Linked DNA regions of Homo sapiens: region 2 is linked to region 1. The links are contacts of gene promoters, found by promoter capture Hi-C in human tissues and cell types (Jung and others, 2019). All regions are on one chromosome and are shown on one strand. The core of a region is centred on a gene start or on the middle of the fragment in contact, and the rest is flanking DNA. Distances in the headings are between cores, read along the strand shown. Region 1 holds the start of EIF2B5 (eukaryotic translation initiation factor 2B subunit epsilon). Region 2 overlaps DVL3 (dishevelled segment polarity protein 3).

Region 1 (3,764 bases), core at 827-3,326:
GTCTTGTTTTATGGGTTAGGAAACATGGTTATTTCCTCTCCATACCTTGACCCCTTGTCCCTAAACATCAATTTGAACTCAAAATCCTGCTGAAGCCTAGGGTACACAAAGTAGCCTGGGAACACGCTTCACGTCAGCTTTCCCCTTCTGCAATCCATATAACATTTAGGAACTGTCTGATGGAGACCATGCTAATGTCCTAGTCTTTACATCCTGGACTTCCATAAGCAATGCGATTCCCTAGTTTTCAAGATTTCAACAAACATGTAAGTGCTCACTATATGCTTGGGACTGAGCTAGGCAGTGGGAATACAAAGATGACAAGGAGCTCATTTATATCCTTGAAGGTGAGAACAAACAAGATTTAGAAACTCAGTGGGAAAACAAAGATGTTATCATTGTAACTTCCATACTGAAGCCATTAAATAAAAGCAAAGTCCACTGGCACCAAACTTTATAATGAGATTCAGAAAAAACCCAAGTTTATTCTTTAATCTTTGTCACAGAAAACCCAAGACAGACAGATACAAAGTTTCAGCTGCTCACCTCCTGATAAGTGTAGAAAATACCCTTAGAACTTACAATGACATCTAAGTAGACACATTTTTCCCCTCTCACATTTCCCCTTAGTTACATTCATCCTGAAAAAACTGGAAAAAGATGGCGAAACATGGAAAGAAAAGTTGCAGGGCCTTACAGTAAATGTTCTTTGATTTGAGCAGCTTTCCAGCAACAAAAGACAAATGTTTCCTGTACACCTGTGGCAGTCAGGAATTCCAGAGTGTAGTCAATTAATGCCACATTGGCCAGGGGCAAGAGGACCTGAAGGATACAAGATGAAAAAAAACTTGAGGTCTCGAATCCCTTTGGGTACCCCACTGCAACAATTTTCACTCCTCTATTCGTATTTCCAAACAGTGTAATTTTGCTGTATCTTTCCAATTCAAAGATAAACAGGTTCCTGCCTTTGATGTTCATGCCATGCTCTAAGCCTGAGTCTGAGACATTGCAATTTGGGGATGGTAAGTACAGAATCTATGTGCCTTGTATCAGACACAGAGCTGTGACAGAATGGCAGTTCACTGCTGGCAAAGGATAATACTGGAAATCAATCATATTTCCATAAATTTAAGCATTGCTAAGGCCTTCTTCCCCATAAGATTTCCTTCCTTGATCCCTTTCTAAGTGTCAGAGGTTAGCCATCTCCCGTCACTTGTCAAAAATGAACAGCCATTAGGCTTTTTCGAGGGAATTAGAGAGGATTTTCCTTAAATCCAATGCAGTTCCCTCTTTCTGAACTGACTGCTGAACGACCCAGCTGAGTCCAATACCCCATTGTCTAGACAACTCGGGGGCTGATGGCAATCAACCACTAAACCCATTTTGTCCTTTCGACAGATAGCACCGGCTATCATTAGAACCTGGAAGGAAAAAAAAAATACACTGCCTGAGATCTAGCCCGCTCTTTTTAAGGCATATTACCGCCCTTTCAGAGGCAAAAGGTCGTTTCTTTTCACCTAAGCAACCGTCATCGGCAAGGTTAAAAGCGGCGCAGCCTCTTCTAGGGGCACTGAATCCCCGCGTGAAGGCTTCTCTCAAGCGCTGTTTCTACATTTAGCTCTCTTCATTCCTTTCAAACCCGAGGTGGACAGCATTACGAATGCCCAAATCTGCCGGCCACTAACTTGGTCAGCAGTCATCAGGGTTTAGACAGTCCCTCTGCATCCGGTTTTAGGATAACAGCATAGACGCAGGTCCTTCAAGGGCATGCTGTTGTAGTTAGCCGAAATGAGAACTTGCTCCAGCCCTGCCACCCTTCCTGCCCTCTGGCTGCTCGCGTGCGCGGCGCTCACCCGAGGCTGGTCCTTGGAGATGGGGAAGAAGCGGCGATCGAAGCTATCGGCCACCAGAACTGCTTGTAGGGGCGGCGGCGGTTCCTCCTCCGCCCCTCTGGCTCCCCCGCCACCGCTGCCTCCCGGCCCCGCGCCGCTGCGCTTGTTAGCCCGACTAACCACCACACCAGGCGGCGCCACTACAGGGGCCGCCATCTTCTTCTCTCACGGTCACCACTTCCGCAAGGAAGCTGCCACCGCACGCAGTAGGGGACAAAAAGGATCCAGCACTTGAAATGCGATGGACTAATTAACGAAGGGAAGGAGACGAGGAGGGAGCAGTGCGCATGCGTCTTCCCCGGGAGCCCACAGGGGTCTGAGGTTGATCCCGGAGGCGCGAGGAGTCGGTACGGGTCACGGTTGTCCCGGCCCCTGAGGCGCAGGGTAGGAGTGGGGTCCCATAGATGTCAGACTCGGTCTGCAAGTATCGTCGGCCTTCATTTGTAGGTGAACAAGCCGAGATTCTTGTGGCGTGATAGGACTTGTGGTCGCCACGAAGGGGCCAGCTCCATCGGGAATCTGTAATCGCCCAGCAGTTTCCCCGCCCCGCGCATGTGAAATATGTAGCCCTCCGTATTCATTCTAGAAACTTCTGGGAACCCAGCGCCTTGGGGAGATAGAACCGAGCCAGATGTTCCCCCGCTGCGAGGAACTCAGAACCTGCATAAATAGAGAAGGTGGCAGGCATATAGTAGGGAGACCAGTAATTCCATTGAGCGCTGATTTTGGGCCAGGCACGATACAAGCATTATCTCTGCAAAACATCTTATTCATTCGTTCAGCAAACGTTTCTTGAACTCTCAGAAGGATGAAGGAAGTTTACCCAGCTAGTAAGTGGAAGAACTGGTATTGGAACCCGATCTGTCTGACTGCAGAGTTCCACAATCTTGCTGCCAAGTTATGTGGGGATAACAATGACTATTTTATGTCATCTATTCATTCTTCCAGCCTATCAGCCTCCTGTGTCTTAAGCAGAGTGGAGACGGGGGTGGATCCAGGCGCACCAGTAAGTTGTACTGGAGTTAAGCAGTAAGCTTTCTGGGCAGAGGAAAGTGCGGGCGTAAAGGTCCAAGGCTTGAAAAGGCGCAGCAGCACCTTTTTCTCTTTGGGGAAAGAAGCGGTGGCTGCGGGGAATAAACCAACTCTGTAGAGGGGCGGGGCCGTGGGAAAGCGGTGGAACGGGGCAGGAAGGCTGGGCGTCATTTGGGAGGCAAGGAACTTTTCTGTAAGGCATAGCGCCCTTTCTGCACGGGACCTGTCCAGGTTCCACGCCACAGGCTTCTGCAGTTCCTGCAAACTGTTCCCATCCCGCCCCGCGTTGCACGTCGGGATTTGGAGTTCGCGATGCTGAGAGCTGTTTCCACGTGGCGATTCCGACTTGACCCGTCGTGCTCCGGCGCCCGCCTAGGGGGACCGAGGAGTTTGTCATTTCTTGCCTCGTTAGGGTGCGGAACGAAAACCATTTGATTTATCCTAGAAAAGGAAAGGCTGAAGCCAACTAAGTAAAAGTTTTCCATTAAATGAATGCACGTTGTAGAAAAGGAATGTTCAACTGCCCTACAAATCCAGAGGTAGAAATGGGGGAGGGGAGAAGGAATTAAATAGGACACACACACACACACACAAACACACACACACACACACTCTTGGGGGGGTGTTTGGGTATGGAAAGTAGGTCCGATTGCAGAATTTATTTTAAATGATTCCCGCAACCTTGGGAAGTTGGGAAGTGGTGAATCCGCTGCCGAAAGGCATTTGTGCTTATGGTAAATCCAGGTCTTAAAATTCTGTAGACTGGTAGCTATATGGATATGATTTTAATAGACGAGTTTCAGGAAGACTCTCTCAAACTGTTTTTTGTTGTTGTTGTTT
Region 2 (5,029 bases), core at 1,995-4,494, 35 kb before region 1:
GTAAATAATAATAATGATAAAATAATAATAATAATAGCTACCATTTATTGAGCACCTACTCTACTGTGTGCCAGGCACTGTGCTAGGCACTTTTCGTACAATATCTAATTTAAATCCTCACAACAACCCTGTGAGGTAGGTATTATTATCATCATTTTACATACGAGGGAACTGAGGCTCAGAGAGGTTAAATAACTCTATCACACAACCAAAAATAGTAGAGCTGGAATTCAAACCCAAAACCACCTAACTCCAAATCCCATGCTCCAATGAATTAAAGTAGAGAGGGGAGAGGGAGGGCCAAATTCAAGACAGAGTGTTGGAGTGAAATGGATATGATATGCTGATAAGATATGGGAAGAAGGAATGTAAGCTCATAAATGTTTCTAGCTGGTGAGCCTATGTAGATTGTGATGAAGTAACCAGGAGAGGAATTCAGGAGGAACATACTTGGTTGGGCAGATGAGTTGAGTCTATACGGAACTGTCCATAGAGATGTCCAGTAGGTAATACCAATACAGATCTAAAGTCTGGGGGAAGTTGGGGGTTGGAGCTATGTATTTGGGAATCACCAGCATATCAGCAGCAATTGAGGACATCAGGATGAATGACTCCATTTTGGGAGTAAATAGAAAGGAAAGAGAAGTGAATCAAAGATGGAACGATGGAAGCACTGATACTGACAGGCATGAGCAATCGTTGAGAAATTCTCAAGAGAGTCGGACAAGACAGAGTCAGAGAGAGAAGTACATGAAACAGCCCTGTAGTGGTGGCTAGAAGCCATGGACTGGGTTGGGAACAATTCTAGAGCTCCCAGAAGGCAGGCAAGATTGAGTCACACTTCCAACAAAGCCCTCTGCACACCAAAACCCCAGGAAGTATTGTTTTTCTTTGTTAGTTTGCTTTTGAGACAGAATCTCACTCTGTCACCCAGGCTGGAGTGCGATCTCAACTCACTGCAACCTCCGCTTGCTTCCTGGATTCAAGCGATTCTTGTGCCTCAGCCTCCTGAGTAGCTGAGATTACAGGCAGGTGCCAAAACACCCATCTAATTTTTGTATTTTTAGTAGAGACAGGGTTTTGCTATGTTGGCCAGGCTGGTCTCGAACTCCCGACCTCAAGTGATCCACCTGTCTCAGCCTCCCAAAGTGCTGGGATTACAGACGTGAGCCACCGCACCCGTCCAAGGAAGTATTGTTAATTGAAATAAATGCCAAAATGTTCCTACCTTGGTTTACCCCAAAACCTGGAGCTAAGAACTTCATCTCACTTTTGACACCCCAGCCCCCAAAATATGGAAGCCCAGGAGAGCCAGGAGAATTTATAGCAGAGGCTTAAAGAGAAAGTTATGATTTGTTTAAAGTAGAGAATAAGGTGAAAAATAAAACCTGGTACTCTGTCTGGAAGTCCTGGAAGTCTCCTTGCCCAACCTCAACTGGCCTGTGGGCTCCTGTGTCCTTGCTCTGGGATGCCATGGTGAATGTGAAAACAGGGGAGGTTGTGTGTGGGGGTGGGAATGGCCTGTCGGTTGCAAGGCGAGTCCTTTGCTGAGCCCAGCCTGAGACCCAGCTTATGGGCTTTATCCAGGTGAGAAAATGCTGGGGACATGTGTGCGAGGTTTAAGGTCTACCAGGAAGGGGAGAAGGGTGTCAGGGGACCAGCCCCACAACCTAGGAGAGGATTAGGAGGGTCCAGCCCTTTGGGCAGGGACCAGCCCTGAGGCTTAAATGAACTTGCATAGGCACCTGTGTATGCATCTCTGTGCATGTATGCATACATGAGTGAGAGAGAAAGATAAAGAGAGCTAAAGAGGCCCCCCTCCCCCCGCCGCAGGCTGCCACACGTGGTGCGATCCGATTCTCTCTGGAAAGGAGGAGAGTCTCTCATGCATGGGTGAAGTTGGGCCCTCCCCAGAAGCCTAGTGACTCATTATGTTAACGTGTGGGTGTGGGGGCTGGACATCCTTGGGAAGCCCTGAGGGGCTGCTGAAGCAGGGTTCCTGGTCTCCTCGGAGGCTGGGCCTCCCCTCGCTGGGGGCTCACAGAAAGTCAAACAGCCCGAAATTCTTGGCTGCTCCAGGCCCAGGGTAAATTGGGGGAGGAAAAAAGAAAGAAAAGAAATGTTTCAGGCCTGGAGGTGAGATGAGCCTGCTGGTTAGTAGGGTTAGGGGTCTGAAGGAACCAGCACGCAGGGCAGGCATGGGGCAGGGGTAGAGCAGAGATGCTCCCTGGAAGCCACCAGCTGCTCAGGCAACTGAGGGGGCCCTCTGGGCCTCTGATCTAGGCACAGGCAGGGATGGCATGGATGGCTATTGGAGGCGACTACAGCTTTAGGTTGCAGGACTGAGGCAGCAGGCAGGGGGATGGTTAGTAGGGGCAGATGAAGCAAATATATTTTGGTTTCAGTAATGTGGGGTAAAGTCAAGAGGTTTGCACACGTGCCTGATGGGGTGGGGTTAATAGAGGGATGATGTAGCTGAATAAATGGTGAAAGGGAGCTAAAGGGGAAACGAGAGAATGAGGGAGTGAGCGTGCCACCAAGGTCATTGCTGGGGTCAACTCCCAAAATGGGGGTTGCAGAGGGGAGTAAGGGGTAGCACCAACAAGTCTGGTCCCAGAGACAAAAGGGGTCCTGGGAAGTCCTGCGCAGGGATTAGTGGGCAGAGGAAACGAACTGGGGCCAGAGGCAGGTTAGGGGGCTGCAGAGCCAATCGGTAGGTGCACCCCACCCTCGCAGCACCCTGCGAGCAGTTAGCGCACCTGGATTTAGTTCCTTTTATTTCCCTTTCAGGTACCAGACAAAGTAAAAAAGACGGACGGATGGAGAGAGGAACGCAGCCGGCTGGGGTGGGAGCGGAATGGAGCTGGGGGAGGGGCCCTGCTCACATCACATCCACAAAGAACTCACTGGGGTTTCCCATGGCCATGCGGAAGGACTGTCTGCTGGCGGTCAGTTCCGGGGGCACTGAGGCCAGGTCGCGGCCCGGAGGGGCTCCTGGGGGCCCCATGGCCGCGGGCGGCGGGGGCATCATCAGCATGGGGGGGCCGTAGAGAGGGGGCACTCCGGGAGGACCGTAGCTCGGGTGTGTGTGGTGGCTGCGAAGGCTGCTGGCCAGGGAATGGTGGCTGCGGTGGCTGTGCTCGCTGGCCGCCGGCCCTGAGCGCTCGCTGGGCGCCCGCTCCCGCGGCCCCCGCAGGCTGCTGCGTGTGGTGTGGTCCGATTCGCTGCCGCTGCCCCCGGACTTGGAGTCCCCGGCCTTCGGGTCCTTCTCCTTCCTCCGATCGCTGCCGCTACGGTTGGAGCCACTGCTCCGACTGCCTGTAGGAGGCAAACAGGGCCGGGGTGGGGCAGGCTGAGCGGGCGGGGGAAGCCTGGGGCCCACCTATAGCCTTCCTCCACGGCCCCTCTACCTTACCTTCGCTGTGCTGACTGCTGGCGCTGCCCCCGCCGTAGCTGTAGCCCAGCTCCGGGAAGCCCGGGTGCGGGTTGTATGGGTGCGGGGGTGGCGGGTACTGGTACGGGAAAGCCATGGGCCAAGGGGCGGCCCCCGGGTGCGGCAAAGGGGCCAGTGTGTCCTGGTCAGAGGCGCCACTGGAGCCATCGTGATCGTGGAGAGACAGGTTGGCCATGTCTGTGAAGGGGAGGGCCGGATGGAGCTAGGTCTTTCCGGAGAGAGGTCCCTAGCCTAGGTCAGGTGGGCTCTGGATGAGAGAGACCGTGGTAGTTTCTGGCTAGAATGAGAGGAGGCACAGCCCAGAGAGCTCCCCCCTTCTGCAGACCCCCTTTGCCACCACCAGAGCCAGCCCCGGGGAGACCCTTCTCAGGACAACCCTGAGTCATCATTCTAGGTTCTCAGCCAAAGCTGTACCTCCCAATCCCTTGAAGGCCCTGGCCAAGCTTTTGCACTTTCTCTGCTGGCCTCAGTGGGCTAGAAGCGGCAAAACTCTTTGAGACGGAGTCTTGCTCTGTGGCCAAGGCTGGAGTGCAGTGGTACAGTTTCAGCTCCCTGCAACCTCTTCCTCCCTGGTTTAAGCGATTCTCCTGCCTCAGCCTCCTGACAGGGTTGCACCACCACACCTGGCTAATTTTTTTTTTTGTATGTTTAGTAGATACAGGGTTTTGCCACGTTAGCCAGGCTGGTCTCCAACTCCTAACCTCAGGTGGTCTGCCCGCCTCAGCCTCCCAAAAGGCTGGGATTACAGGCGCGAGCCACTGCGCCCGGCCTGCAAAACTCTTATGTGGCCATTTTCTCTTCCGTTCACTCAGCTGGTGCAAGACTGGAGAATTTGGAAGGCTGAAATACTAGACAGCCACCAGGTATGTCGCACCTGAAGTTCATGAGGCACAATAGCGAACACTACCTTCAGCTCAGCCTAAACTAATCAGAACAGACGCGAAGAGTAGCTTACTTTCTCCTTACCTTCTCAGATGAGGTCATTAATTAGGACAAGGAGCAGTTTGGGAAATTTAGGTAAAGTGTTACCCACCCCTTCACCTAGAACTAAATACCCACTAAAAGCCTAGAATGAGTGCAGGGCCTTCCAGAGATTCCCTATATAGAAGGTACTTGGCCCTGATTATACTTTCCCAGTGCTGCTGGGCAGGGTGAGTAGGGTGGGAAGGGGCCAGAAGGAAAGAACAACTTAGGTGCCTCCCCCACTGCTCTCCACCCCGTTCCCAGCCAGGCCTAGCTCTTCATAGCACTGTCTCACTCCACCAACATTACTCATCTCACGATCCTGGCGCCCCCGGGGAAATTATACATTCCTTAATGGCAAGGCTACTCCCACCAATGTTGGAACTACATTGAAGAGAATATAAGGGGCCACCAGGACTGAATACCTGCCTGGGACACCCTCTGCTCACACACTATCGGTACCAGGTCCCAGAGCTCCAAGAGAGCTACAACTGCCCTTGAGGCCACCGGCCCTATTAAGATGAGACATTCCTCCCAGCCCTAAGAAGAGCCAGCCCCAGCCTTCCAAGAGAGAAGTCAGGAGACAGGGCTCTGAGGCTGCCTGTGGAGCCT

The links. The method cuts DNA at HindIII sites, captures the fragments that hold promoters and counts their contacts. A contact is called where the count stands out against the background at its distance.
Region 2: a fragment that was not itself captured here is called in contact with the fragment with the promoter of EIF2B5 in region 1 in 4 of the 25 tissues and cell types used here (dorsolateral prefrontal cortex, hippocampus, neural progenitor cells and 1 more).

The regions. Positions count from the first base shown.
Region 1 is chr3:184,133,670-184,137,433 of GRCh38, reverse strand. It overlaps EIF2B5 (eukaryotic translation initiation factor 2B subunit epsilon), which reads right to left and starts at 2,076. Exons shown (of 16, transcript NM_003907.3): 1 at 1,854-2,076; 2 at 698-822. The coding sequence starts at 2,048. It overlaps EIF2B5-DT (EIF2B5 divergent transcript), which reads left to right and starts at 2,173. Exons shown (of 2, transcript NR_183721.1): 1 at 2,173-2,898; 2 at 3,156-3,764. RefSeq lists enhancers at 1,727-1,796, 2,117-2,176, 3,046-3,687 and a silencer at 1,867-1,976. The HindIII fragment of the contact is 14,690 bases long and covers 1-3,764 here.
Region 2 is chr3:184,168,608-184,173,636 of GRCh38, reverse strand. DVL3 (dishevelled segment polarity protein 3) reads right to left here. Exons shown (of 15, transcript NM_004423.4): 14 at 3,416-3,631; 15 at 23-3,318. The coding sequence ends at 2,882. Among named protein-coding and RNA genes, the nearest start is that of AP2M1, 3.7 kb to the left of the region's middle. RefSeq lists an enhancer at 1,802-2,096. The HindIII fragment of the contact is 7,229 bases long and covers 1-5,029 here.